Linked DNA regions of Homo sapiens: all the other regions are linked to region 1. Evidence: promoter capture Hi-C in 16 types of primary human blood cells and fetal thymus (Javierre and others, 2016). All regions are on one chromosome and are shown on one strand. The core of a region is centred on a gene start or on the middle of the fragment in contact, and the rest is flanking DNA. Distances in the headings are between cores, read along the strand shown. Region 1 holds the start of EIF2B3 (eukaryotic translation initiation factor 2B subunit gamma). Region 2 holds the start of PRDX1 (peroxiredoxin 1). Region 3 overlaps NASP (nuclear autoantigenic sperm protein).

Region 1 (4,287 bases), core at 150-2,649:
ATGCTGCTTCATAATTCTGGTCTCTGCACTGCTACTGTTGCTTCCTAGTCTGCCTTTCTCTTGTGTCTAGTAATCACCTATTAAACTTTGAAGACAGCTCAAGAATCCTCTTGCCTACAAAGCCATTCCTAACCGTTCCCACCCCTCCAGAAGTGACTCCTTTTCCCGAAGTGCTTCCATTCTGCCATGTGCAGATTCTCTTAGCCTTTACGGGTTTCATTGCACGTATGTGTTTAAATGTCTACTTAAGTGTAACATTAATGTCTCTTAAATGTCTACATAAGAGTGTAAGAGTGACTTTCTTGGACTGTGTGTGCATCATCACTGTATTCCCAGTCAGATGCCAGAAATCAAAGTGGAATGAGGACCTGTGAACTTCACAACTGTATAAGAGTCAAACTCAAACATGTGCATAAGGGCATTAGAACCCAGGTCACTAGGAACTGAGGTTCCAGCTCTCAAGGAGGCCCTGGGTGAAGAAAGGCAACCTAGGAAGCATGAATAGTAATCATGAACATAACTAATCATGCTACCAGGCAGACTGTCAAATGCTCATGTCACTGCCACGACTATGGCTGACGGGAATCATGGCAACGAGTCTCGCTGCCTCCCAAGCTTTGGAGAGGGTGTTCACCGCATCTCAGACTTGCCTGCATCATAGCACTCATGCCTTTTCCAGTTGTAAATAGATAAGAAAACTGTATCAGAATTGGTCTGTCATTCCACGTGTGCTGCCTGAAGGCAGAGACCTCACTGCTCCTCCCTATATTTCACTGCCCTGCATCCAAACAACTAAAGGCAGGCTGAACAAATGAATGAAGGGCTGAGGCTGAAAGAGTGCAGGCACAGTGCTAAAGGCGTCTGGTACCGGTCTGGTGCTCGCTCACTCGCTGTGACTTTAAGCAGAACCCTCCCCGAAACTTCGTTTCTTTCTTTTCTTTTCTTTTTTTTTTTTTTTTTGAAACGGAGAGTCTCACTATGTTGCCCAGGCTGGAGTGCAGTGGCGCGAATTAGGCTCACTGCAACCTCCACCTCCTGGGTTCAAACGATTCTCCTGCCTCAGACTCTCGAGTAGCTGAGATTAGAAACTTAGTTCCTCCATCTGTTGCATAAGGTGGTTGGCTCGGATTCTCATCCCCAACCTCCCTTCTACTTCGGACACAGCTACACCGGGTCGAGCAGGGAGTCGAGCTGACAACTTCGGGGCTCAGCACCCTCTCCTACCCCTTCGGGTCCACCTCGGCCCAGTTCGACATGCCCGCCTCCCTCAGATGAGTGGCCCCACCGCACTGCTCACCCGGGTCAGCCAGCTTGTGTGCGGCCTGGCAGGGCAGAAGTCACAGCTATAACTCAGCTCCCGGCACGCCGCAACCGCTCCCAGCGATCTCCACGCCGCCTCTGACTGACAGCCCAATGGCGCAGGCGCGCGATGGCCGAGAAACTCGATGGAACGCGCAGAGCAGACCCATGGAGAAGAGAAGACCGCCGAGCGATGGATGACGGAGGGGAAGCACACTCAGCGGAGAGGAGGGAAGGCGGGCCGGAGGGGGCGGGGCCACCGAGGAGCATTCGACACGTGTGTCCCTCTGTCCATTAACACATTACCAACGCCTTTTGAGTATTCCTCCCAGTGCAGGGTGCCGGGAACCCAGACGGAACAACTCAGCCTCTTTCCTCAGGGAGTAAGTCTAAGACCTGGCTTCGAGTACATTCGGTGAAAGAAAGCTCATTGGGAGCCGCAATTTTGGCTAGCTAGTGAAAAAAATCACCGAATGCCCCTGCAGGGGTTGCCAGGACTTCCTATTTGTTTTTGTTGTTGTTGTTGTTGTTGTTTGTTTTTTGTTTTTTTTGAGACGGAGTCTCGCTCTGCGTCGCCCAGGCTGGAGTGCAGTGGCGCGATCTCGGCTCACTGCAAGCTCGGCCTCCCGGGTTCACGCCATTTTCCTCCCTCAGCCTCCCGAGGAGCTGGGACTACAGGCGCCTGCCACCATGCCCGGCTAATTTTTTTGTATTTTTAGTAGAGACGGGGGTTTCACTGTGTTAGCCAGGATGGTCTCGATCTCCTGACCTCGTGATCCGCCCGCCTCGGCCTCCCAAAGTGCTGGGATTACAGGCGTGAGCCACCGCGCCCGGCCCGGGACTTCCTATTTGTAACAGGGCCACTCACGTTAACTTTAGCCATCAAAACTGGGGGCGGCTGGGCATGGTGGCTCATGCCTGTAATCTCCGCAATTTGGGAAGCCGAGGTGGGAGGATTGCTTGAAACCGGGCGTTCAAGACCAGCCTGTGCGAGAGAGCCTCCAGTCTCTACAAAAGTAAAAATTAGCTGGGCATGGTAGTGTGTGCCTGTAGTCCCAGCTGCTCAGGAGGCTGAAACGGGAGGATCGCTTGAGCCCAGGAGTTCGAGGCTGCAGTGAGCTATGATCGGGCCACTGCACTCCTCCTGCCTAGACGACAGAGTGAGACCCTGTTTTTTTTTTTTAATTTAGTTTTTATTTCATAATCATAAACTTAACTCAGCAATCCAGTTAGGCATGGAAAGGAACAAGGAAAACATGGAACCCAAAGGGAACTGCAGCAAGAGCACAAAGATAAGATACTGCGAGCAGGCCGGGCGTGGTGGCTCACGTCTGTAATCCTAGCACTTTGGGAGGCCGAGGCAGGCAGATTGCCTGAGCTCAGGAGTTCAAGATCAGCCTGGGCAACATGGTGAAACCCCGTCTCTACTAAAATACAAAAAAAAAAAAAAAAAGAAAGAAAGAAAGAAAGAAAAAATTAGCCAGGCATGGCGGCGTGCGCCTGTAGTCCCAGCTACTCGGGAGGCTGAGGAAAGAGAATTGCTTGAACCCGGGAAGTGGAGGTTGCAGTGAGCCGAGATCGTGCCACTGCACTTCAGCCTGGGAGAGGGCGACAGGGTGAGACAGCGTCTCAAAAAAAAAAAAAAAAAAAAATACTGCAAGCAAATGGGGTGAAGGGGTGCTCTTCTGAGCTACAAAAGGAATGGTCTGGTGGTTAAGATAAAACAAAAGCCAAACTTGTTAGAGTTGTCCACAGTCAGCAATGGTGATCTTCTTGCTGGTCTTGCCATTCTCGGACCCAAAGTGCCCCATGGCCTCCACAATATTCATGCCTTCTTTCACCTTGCCAAAGACCACAGGATTGCCATCCAGCCACTCAGTCTTGGCAGTGCAGATGAAACACTGGGAACCATTTGTGTTGGGTCCAGCATTTGCCATGGACAAGATGCCAGGATGTGTATGCTTTAGGACGAAGCTCTCGTCATCAAATTTCTCCCCGCAGGTGTACTTGCCACCAGTGCCATTATGGCATGTGAAGTCACCACCCTGACACATAAACCCTGGAATAATTCTGTGAAAGCAGGAACCTTTATAACCAAATCCTTTCTCTACATTGCTCAGAGCACGAAAGTTTTCTGCTGCCTTTGGAACCTTGTCTGCAAACGGCTCGAAGGACACGCGGCCCAAGGGCTTGCCGTCGACAGCGATGTCGAACACGGTGGGGTTAACCATGGCTGATCGTACAGAGCTCCTGGCGTCGGTGGCTGCATTTGCAAAGCCGAGACCCTGCTTTTAACAAAACAATAATAGGCCAGGTGCGGTGGCTCACGCTTGTAATCCCAGAAGTTTAGGAAGTGAGGCGGATGGATCCCTTGGGCCCAGGAGTTCGAGACTAGCCTGGGCAACGTAGTGAAACACCCTCTCTACTAAAAATACAAAAATTAGTCAGGTGTGGTGCCGCGCTGTGGGGTTCCAGCTACTTGGAAGGCTGAGGCAGGAGGATCGCTGGAGCCCAAGAGGCAGAGGTGGCAGTGAGCCAATATGGTATCACTGCACTTCAGCCTGGGTAACAAAGAGACAGGATCTCTAAGTAAATAAAATAAATATTAAAAAATGACGAATAGATAATAAAATAATTGTTGTTCTAAGCTCTACGGTTTGGAGTGGTTTATCAAGTTGCACTAGATAACAGGACCAATGGCCATTCTCTTTTTCCCATGCATTCCTGCAATTTCCTAATCTTTTGAAAGCTTCCTTTTTTTTCGATTAATTAATTTTTTTTTTTTTTTGAGACAGTCTCACTCTGTCACCAGGCTGGAGTTCAGTGGCACAATCTTGGCTCACTGCAACCTCTGCCTCCTGGGTTCAAGTGATTCCTGCGTCAGCCTCCCGAGTAGCTGGGACTACAGGCATGCGCCACCACGCCTGGCTAATTTTTGTATTTTTAGTAGACAAGGGGTTTCATCAGATAGGCCAGGATGGTCTTGAA
Region 2 (3,809 bases), core at 963-3,462, 530 kb after region 1:
AGTTGGGGGCAGGGTGCCCAATTTTAGCATTTCCTGAAGACATCTTCCTATCAGCTAGAAATAACAGAAATGAATTAGAAACAAGCCTTAATTTTCTACATAACCAGCAGCCTTCACCTACTTAAAGAGACTTAGCTGTAAACAATCAAGGCATTGTCCAGTGTCCCTGAATACATTAAATGTTGTTTTAGTAAGAAGCTCCAGCCAGCAGTCAAGGGTCACAGTCTGAGCTTTCCAACTTTTGGAACGAAACAAGTCTCTGAATCTCAGCCTTTGTTTTCATTTAAAAACAGCAAGGCAATTTCTTTATATACTGAGATAACCTCTCATTCTTTCTGAACCATAATTAGTGCAGTGGCATCTTATTCATTATACAGAAGCAGAGAGAGAGGCAGATGAAGACTCTCAAACCAGAATCCAAATGCACAATGCCACAAACACTTTTGTTTGGCTCCCCAAAAGTCACGTTGACCTTTCCCATCACTGTGCCTCCACCTGCCTTCATAACATCAGAAGCATATTTGACTTTTCTCCAGGTAGCTTTGTCCAAGACAGCACACAACCTATAACTAATTCAACTTGTTTTATTTGTTTTTGTTTTGTTTTGTTTTTTTGACGGAGTTTCGCTCTTGGGGCCCAGGCTGGAATGCAATGGCATTATCTCGGCTCACTGCAACCTCCACCTCTCAGGTTCAAGGGATTCTCCTGCCTCAGCCTCCATAGTAGCTGGGATTACAGGCGCAGGCCACCACACCCGGCTAATTTTTTTGTACTTCTATTAGAGACGGGATTTCTCCATGTTGGTCAGGCTAGTCTCAAACTCCTCACCTCAGATGATTGCCCAACTCAGTCTCCCAAAATGCTGGGATTACAGGCGTGAGCCACCGCGCCCTTCCAGTCAGTCCAACTTTTAAGAGGCAAGACCACTGGGCGCAGTGTCTCACACCTGTAATCCCAGCACTTTGAGAGGCTCAGGCGGGCGGATCACCGGGTCAGGAGTTCGAGACCAGTCTGGCCAACATGGTGAAACCCCGTCTCTACTAGAAACACAAAAATTAGTCGGGCGTGGTGGTGCATGCCTGTAATCGCAACTACTCAGGAGGCTGAAGCAGGAGAATCACTTGAACCCGGGAGGCAGAGGTTGCAGTAAGCTGAGATCGCGCCACTGCACTCCAGCCTGGGCAACAGAGTGAGACTCTGTCTCCAAAAAAAAAAAAAAAAAAAAGAGGCAAGACCAAGATATTGATTGGCATCTGCTTAATTTCAAATCTTTAGGTATTGTGTAAGCCCTAGAATTCCCTTCACCATTTGTGAAGGTGGGTTCCTGACTTTGGGGCTAATATCCCAGGGCGAAAACAAGTATAAGAATCAATTTACTGCTGAAAAGGAAGGTTGCACTGGATTCACCCAGATCAACACCAAGATTAGTATTGAGATCTTGGCCAAGCGCTGTGGCTCAAGCCTGTAATCCCAGCACTTTGGGAGGCCGAGGCAGGCAGATCACCTGAGGTCAGAAGTTCGAGACCAGCCTGGCCATCATAGTGAAACCCCGTCTCTAACAAAAATACAAAAAATTAGCCGGGGGTGGTGGCACGCGCCTGCAGTCCCAGCTACTCGGGAGGCTGAGGCAGGAGAATGGCGTGAACCCGGGAGGCGGAGGCTGCAGTGAGCCGAGATCCAGCCACTGCACTCCAGCCTGGGCGACAGAGCGAGACTCCGTCTCAAAAAAAAAAAAAAAAAAAAAATACAAAAATTAGCCGGGGCTTGGTGGCACAAGCCTGTAATCCCAGCTACTCCTAAGGCTGAGGCAGAAGAATTGCTTGAATTCGGGAGACAGGGGTTGCAGTAAGCCGAGACCGCGCCACTGCACTCCAGCCTGGCCGACAGAGCGAGACTCTAGCTCAAAAAACAGAGATTTAACCCACTAAGCCGCGGTCTGAAAGCTTTTCCAAGTCCCAAAGTTCTTAGTTCACAATACCACAAGCAAAAGAAATTTTGTAAGCATGGATCTTAGCAAACTTTTAACTGTTTTTTAAAAAGTCCTTAACACCTTTAACGACAAAAAACAAAAACCAAAAACTAAGGCATGCTGCAACTTGGTGCCCCCAAATGGCCTTCTCGTCCAATCCTTCTTTCCCAAGTGGCCCCCAAGTACAAAACCCAACCAATTCGGGGTAAAGGCTGCTGGGATTCAGGCCGCCACCGGGCCCCTTCAGGGGATCTGCCCAGCGTAGAGGGCCACATCCCTAAACCCCACTTCAGGTGCCCCCTGTCCCTCCCCAGCACTGGAGAAAGCACCAGCAGAGAGAGTGCTTCAGCGGGGACATTTGGGCTCATCGCTAACTCCATTCCACGTACAGGAAAATAAAGACGGGGAAAGGGTACCCGAAGCTCCGCAGCTAGTCAAGGCTCAGGACCCGGAACAGCCAAATACATAGAGGCTGTCTTCTACAGCCACGAGTCTGGATACAGGTCCATTCCAGAAGCTTCCCGAACCCACCCCGTCCGGCAGGAGGCTAGTCTCGGAGACCCCCACCACCAGCCCGCCCAGACGCCGCGCCACGTGCTCGAGTTGCCGGGGGAAGACTCGACTCGAGTCCACGCTTGCCTTGGGGTTCAACCAGGTTCCCGCACCTACGTGGGGGGCCCACGAGAGGGGTGTGCGCAGCGCTCAAGCAGTCTCGGACTCCGGGCCTCCCCCGGCTGCCTCACGCATCACAGCACCCCCACCCGAGCGCGGGCGGGCCCCGGACAGGAGGAGGAAGAGGCAACAGGCAAGAAGGGCGCGCCGCGCCTCACTCCGCAGGGGCCGCACTGCCCACACTCACCAGTCCCAACACAAGTCGCAGAAACTAACCACCGACACCAGGCAAGAACAAGACGCGCAAGAGCTCTCCGGGGCGCTGCCTTTATAGCCAGTAGGGATCTCGCGAGAGTCGGAACGGACGGGGGTGCCGGAGGAGGAGAGAGAGGAGGGGGATGTGGCCCGAGCCCCGCCCGGCGCGCCCCGCCGGAATGACTCGGCGCTTTCCCTCGTTGGGGCGGGTGCGGAAAAATACTAATACCCCACCCTGTTGCGGATGGCTGAGGTTGGAGTGAGGCGCCCTTGTGGCCGCTCCCGAACCCGAACGCTTAGGTTAATCCTAGATCTCTGCGGAAAACCAGGATTCTCTTTACTTCCAGGACCACTACGCACTGTGCCCTCAATGCCCAAACTGGAGTAAGCGTCTTAGCTGCTGCCCACGGAGGACCACGTCTAACCACACCAAGCCATGAGAACTGTCTATCCAAATATTTCTTAAGTTCGCAGCCTTAACCCCAGCGCAGATCCTCAGTAACCCTCATGGCTTAGATAGCTTCCTTCATTGTTCTCTTTAATTACAGGGTTGCTGCTTTCTGTTGTAAAGGAAAATAAAATATCAGGACTCCTAAACTTACGCCAGAGGGAAAGTTCATCTTGGGAGGCTGATTCAGTTACACGACCATCCTCTCCCCGGATGAATAATTTGACTTTACAATCTTGAGTCAAAACATTACACATTAGCCAGACCCACACGGTAAGGCAAAAGGCCTCAGACATTTCCTGATGACTACCCCCCACAAACACACATACACAAAATCATAATTAATTATTTGCTCCCCTGGAAACCTTTAAAGTATGTAGCCTCCCATAAAACAAGGACGTGTCAATTGCAACTAGATCTACAATATAAAGTCTAGTTCCTAAAACTAAAGTTTGTTCTATTCCACATTTTTTTGAGACGGAGTCTCACTCACCCTGTCGCCCAGGCTGTAGTGCAGTGGCACGG
Region 3 (4,382 bases), core at 1,073-3,572, 630 kb after region 1:
GATCACATGGTCAGAAGTTTGAGACCAGCCTGGCCAATATGTTGAAACTTTGACTCTACTAAAAATACAAAAATTAGCTGGACGTGGTGGCATGCGCCTGTGGTCCCAGCTACTTGGGAGGCTGAACCAGAAGAATCGCTTGAACCCGGGAGGCAGAGGTTGCAGTGAGCTGAGATCATGCCGCTGTGCTCCAGCCTGGGCAACACAGCGAGTCTCTGTCTTCCAAAAGAAAAAAAAAATCTGTCACTTATTTAAAAAGTTAACTATATTTTAAAAGCCCCAGGCTTTTCATATGCTGCATTTTTTGGTGTTGTATATCAGATACTGTTCTGCTTGTAAAGACAATACAGTTTTCCATATTTTACAAAAGAAGAAATGGGAGAAAGGGGTTTAAGTAACTTGCCCTAGTCACACAGTAAGGAGAAGCCTGCTACCCAAACTTCTGGCTTGAGTACTCAACCACTTACTTTCTGTGCTTTATTTCCCTTTACGTGGCAGCACCATTCTGCAGAAAACTTCCAAGCAGTTTTTTTCACTTAAAAATTAAAACCCTGTTTACTGCCACCTCTTGACTCTTTGCCATGTGTTGGGCTGTACATTTGCTTCTAATAAAGATAATTGGTCTGTTCTTTTTCTCTTTGAATCGGGTCTTGCTCTTTTGCCAGGCTGGAGTACAGTGGCATCGCAGTCATGGCTCACGACAGCCTCAAACTCCTATGCTGAAGCCATCTTCCTCCCTCAGTCTCTCAGGCAGCTGAGACTATGGGTGTGTATCACCATGCCCAGCTGGGGTGCAGTGGTGCGGTCTCGCTCACTGCAACCTGCATCTCCCAGGTTCAAGCGATTCTCCTACGTCAGCCTCCTGAGTAGCTGGGACTAAAGGCACATGTCCCCAGGCCCGACTAATTTTTTTGTATTTTTACTAGAGATGGGATTTCACCATGCTGGCCAGGTTGGTCTCGAACTCCTGACCTCAGGTGATCCACTAGCCTCAGCCTCCCAGAGTGCTGGGATTACAGGTGTGAACCATTGCACCTGGCCCACCATACACCATTATCTTCTCATATCCACATTTCCAAGTGGGTCCGGGCTTAGTTCCCCAAAGTTAGACCAGATGGATGGTCTTATTAACTCTGCCCATCCTCTAGCAGAATATGCAGAAAAGCTGAAGTAGATTTACATATGTAGGATAATTGATAGAAAAGTAAATACTTCATCTTCCCAATTTGTAGGAAAAATTAAATTGATATTGTTATCTTCTATTCTTACCTGGTATCTCTTCCTACTCATACCAGAATACTAGAAGACAACCTCTAATTTGAAACAAAATATCTTAATTACTTGGAAGTTTTACATCAAATTTTTAAATTAAAATTCCTATAATTGCTTCAGAAGAATATTACTGGTTCCTCTTGAGGAATCTGTACCATCTTCAAGGAATGGTGGGGAGCTAGGTTAAGGAGAAAGCCATCGCCATTACTTTTTTTTTTTTTTTTTTTTTTTTTTTTGAGACAGAGTCTTGCTCTGTCACCCAGGCTGGAATGCAGTGGCGTGATCTAGGCTCACTGCAACCTCCGCCTCCTAGGTTCAAGTGATTGTTCTGCCTCCGCCTCCCGAGTAGCTGGGACTACAGGCATGTGCCACCACGCCTGGCTAATTTTTTGTATTTTTAGTAGAGACGGGGTTTCACCGTGTTAGCCAGGATGGTCCCAATCTCCTGACCTGGTGATCTGCCCACCTTGGCCTCCCAAAGTGCTAGGATTACAGGTGTGAGCCACCGCGCCTGGCAGCCATTGCCATTACTTTAAAACCTTTCCCAACTTGTGCCCAGGTATCAATGGCAATGCCCTGATGTCCTCAGTAAATTTGTTAAAGTATCTTTTTTTTTTTTTTTTTTTTTTGAGACGGAGTCTTGCTCTGTCACCCAGGCTGGAGTGCAGTGGTGCGATAATCCGCTCACTGCAAGCTCCACCTCCTGGGTTCACGCCATGCTCCTGCCTCAGCCTCCCAAGTAGCTGGGACTACATGCGCCTGCCACCACACCTGGCTAATTTTTTTGTTTTTTGGTTTTTTTTTTTAGTAGAGACGGGGTTTCACCATGTTCGCCAGGATGGTCTCAATCTCCTGACCTCGTGATCCGCCCGCCTCGGCCTCCCAAAGAGCTGGGATTACAGGCGTGAGTCACCGCGCCTGACCCTGTTAAAGTATTTTCTAAGCTTCTTTGAAAACGGAATCTCTTTGTGGTTGCTGCTGATAAAACTCCTTTGACCTGACGATTGCTCTAAGTCCTAATTGCCATATTTATATTCCCATAGTAAGAGTGTTTGGAGATAGTGTTTGAGCTTTTTTGCTGGTGTTAAAAATGCATAATGAAAGATGGCAGAGAGAGGCATATTATATCCAATTCATGAGTTGTTTGTGTTAACAGAAAGCTTATTTTAATCACTTAACATTGTTGATTTGTCTAATCACAGTAGCGCTATTGATTAGGAGCCTGACCTTTAGATGGTTGACTTGTGAGTGTATTCAATATGGTGAAATATGGTGTTGATATATGGCTGCAGATTTTAGAGGTGTCATTAGCAAAGGTATAGGAGTAAAATAGGGGTTATAGTATTCCTTACTCAAATTCTGTATGTGCTAGAGCTGGCTGGAGTCTGTGGCATGCTCATTGGTGTAAGTCGGTAAGGACTATGCTTTTTGCTCCACATCTCTGTTGTGGGAAAGCTAGTCTCTTGAGCATTCTTGATCAGAATGGACTGGAATAATTTAACTTTCGTACTTTCCCAGGCTATTAGTATTATCTAATGAGTGGCTTAAAGATACCAGAAACACTGACTGAGGTCTCCACCTGCTTCTGGCTGAATGAATGGGAGCTTCTAGCCATTGAATAAGAGGCAGTAGCCAATGTTTCTTATTCTGAATGGTCCAGGTTGACTTTTATAAGAGAAACACTCAGCCTTTTAATTGCTGAAGGTCTGACCCATAGACTAAGATTGCACATTCTTAGTCTAGGTTACACTTGAACTAGACTGCACCCACTGACGATATATTCAGTTCAGGTGTTAACTCACTTGGATTAGCATCTGGCCTGTCCTATCTGAATATAGGTTGAGACGTGTATTGGAATCTCTGACTAGTCAGAATACGTTCTTAGTTATATTCTCAATACTGAGGAATTTTTACTTGTAGAAACTGAAGGCTCAGAAGAGGATGATAAAGAAAATGATAAGACCGAAGAAATGCCAAATGATTCAGTCCTTGAAAACAAGGTATGTTGTTAGCCACTCAGTACTGTTGTCAGCCTTTTTCTGTTTTTGGGAGACTGGAGCTCACTCTTGTTGCCTAGGCTGGATTGCAGTGGGGTGATCATGATCATGGCTCACTGCAGCCTAGACCCGGGCTTAAGTGATCGCCTCACCTCAGCCTCTCAAGTAGCTGGGACTACAGGCTTGTGCCAACATGCCCAGCTAGTTTGCAGGACTGTAGCTTACCTAGTTTAGGCACGATTATTATTTTTTTAAGAGATAGAATCTCTGTCTCTGCCCAGGCCGGAGTGCACTGGCATGATCAGGGCTCACTGTATCTTTAGCCTCCTGGGTTCAAGGAATCCTTCTGCCTCATCTTCTCAGATAGCTAGGTCTCCAGATGTCTGCCACCATGTCTGGCTAATTTGTTCTCTAATTTTATTTTGTTTAGACGGCTGTCTTGCTGTGCTGCCCAGGCTGGTCTCAAACCTGGCTTCAAGTTATTCTCCTGCCTCAGCCTCCCAAAGTGTTGGGATTATAGGCATAACCCACCATGCCCAGCCCTAGGCATGATTATTATAGATAACTGTCTCTTGATTATGGATTAGGGACCCTTTATTCATGCCTAGGATGGGTGGATATATTTGATCCTGGGGTTCTTGTGTGTTAGTATGTGAGCCAACATTTCACTGTTAAAATATCAGTGACATGGTCATGACTTAAGACAGTATGTGGACCCATTCTCTAGATTTTAGGGAGAAAGTCCAAATTTTGAATCGTATATCAACTTTTTTTAAGCTACGCTAAGTTATACATTTAGATTTGTATTTGAAAAAGATGCCTATCTTTTTATTATTTGGTTATACTTTAGTCTCTTCAAGAAAATGAGGAGGAGGAGATTGGGAACCTAGAGCTTGCCTGGGATATGCTGGATTTAGCAAAGATCATTTTTAAAAGGTAAAACTCTTGGTGCTTCTAGGCTTGGGTTGGGAGTTTGGTGGTTAAATAGAAACCAGTTAGGGTTAGACAGGTACTGTTAAGGTTTTTGATCAATTTTCCTTCTTTTAGGCAAGAAACAAAAGAAGCACAGCTTTATGCTGCCCAGGCACATCTTAAACTCGGAGAAGTTAGTGT

What was found. Contacts are between HindIII fragments. The CHiCAGO score rates a contact against its expected background, and 5 or more counts as called.
Region 2: a contact is called between a fragment that was not itself captured here and the fragment with the promoter of EIF2B3 in region 1, in 2 of 17 cell types (naive CD4 T cells and total CD8 T cells). The highest score is 6.0, in naive CD4 T cells.
Region 3: a contact is called between a fragment that was not itself captured here and the fragment with the promoter of EIF2B3 in region 1, in 2 of 17 cell types (naive CD4 T cells and total B cells). The highest score is 6.1, in naive CD4 T cells.

What each region holds. Positions count from the first base shown.
Region 1 is chr1:44,985,196-44,989,482 of GRCh38, forward strand. EIF2B3 (eukaryotic translation initiation factor 2B subunit gamma) reads right to left here and starts at 1,400. Exons shown (of 12, transcript NM_020365.5): 1 at 1,298-1,400. It also overlaps the pseudogene PPIAP35. RefSeq lists enhancers at 1,174-1,443, 1,402-1,983, 1,694-1,743 and a silencer at 1,534-1,623. The HindIII fragment of the contact is 3,433 bases long and covers 614-4,046 here.
Region 2 is chr1:45,519,001-45,522,809 of GRCh38, forward strand. PRDX1 (peroxiredoxin 1) reads right to left here and starts at 2,884. Exons shown (of 6, transcript NM_181697.3): 1 at 2,829-2,884; 2 at 1-54. The coding sequence starts at 43. RefSeq lists a silencer at 2,078-2,240 and an enhancer at 3,283-3,362. The HindIII fragment of the contact is 543 bases long and covers 1,942-2,484 here.
Region 3 is chr1:45,609,977-45,614,358 of GRCh38, forward strand. It overlaps NASP (nuclear autoantigenic sperm protein), which reads left to right. Exons shown (of 15, transcript NM_002482.4): 7 at 3,193-3,272; 8 at 4,120-4,205; 9 at 4,317-4,382. Among named protein-coding and RNA genes, the nearest start is that of CCDC17, 12 kb to the right of the region's middle. The HindIII fragment of the contact is 216 bases long and covers 2,215-2,430 here.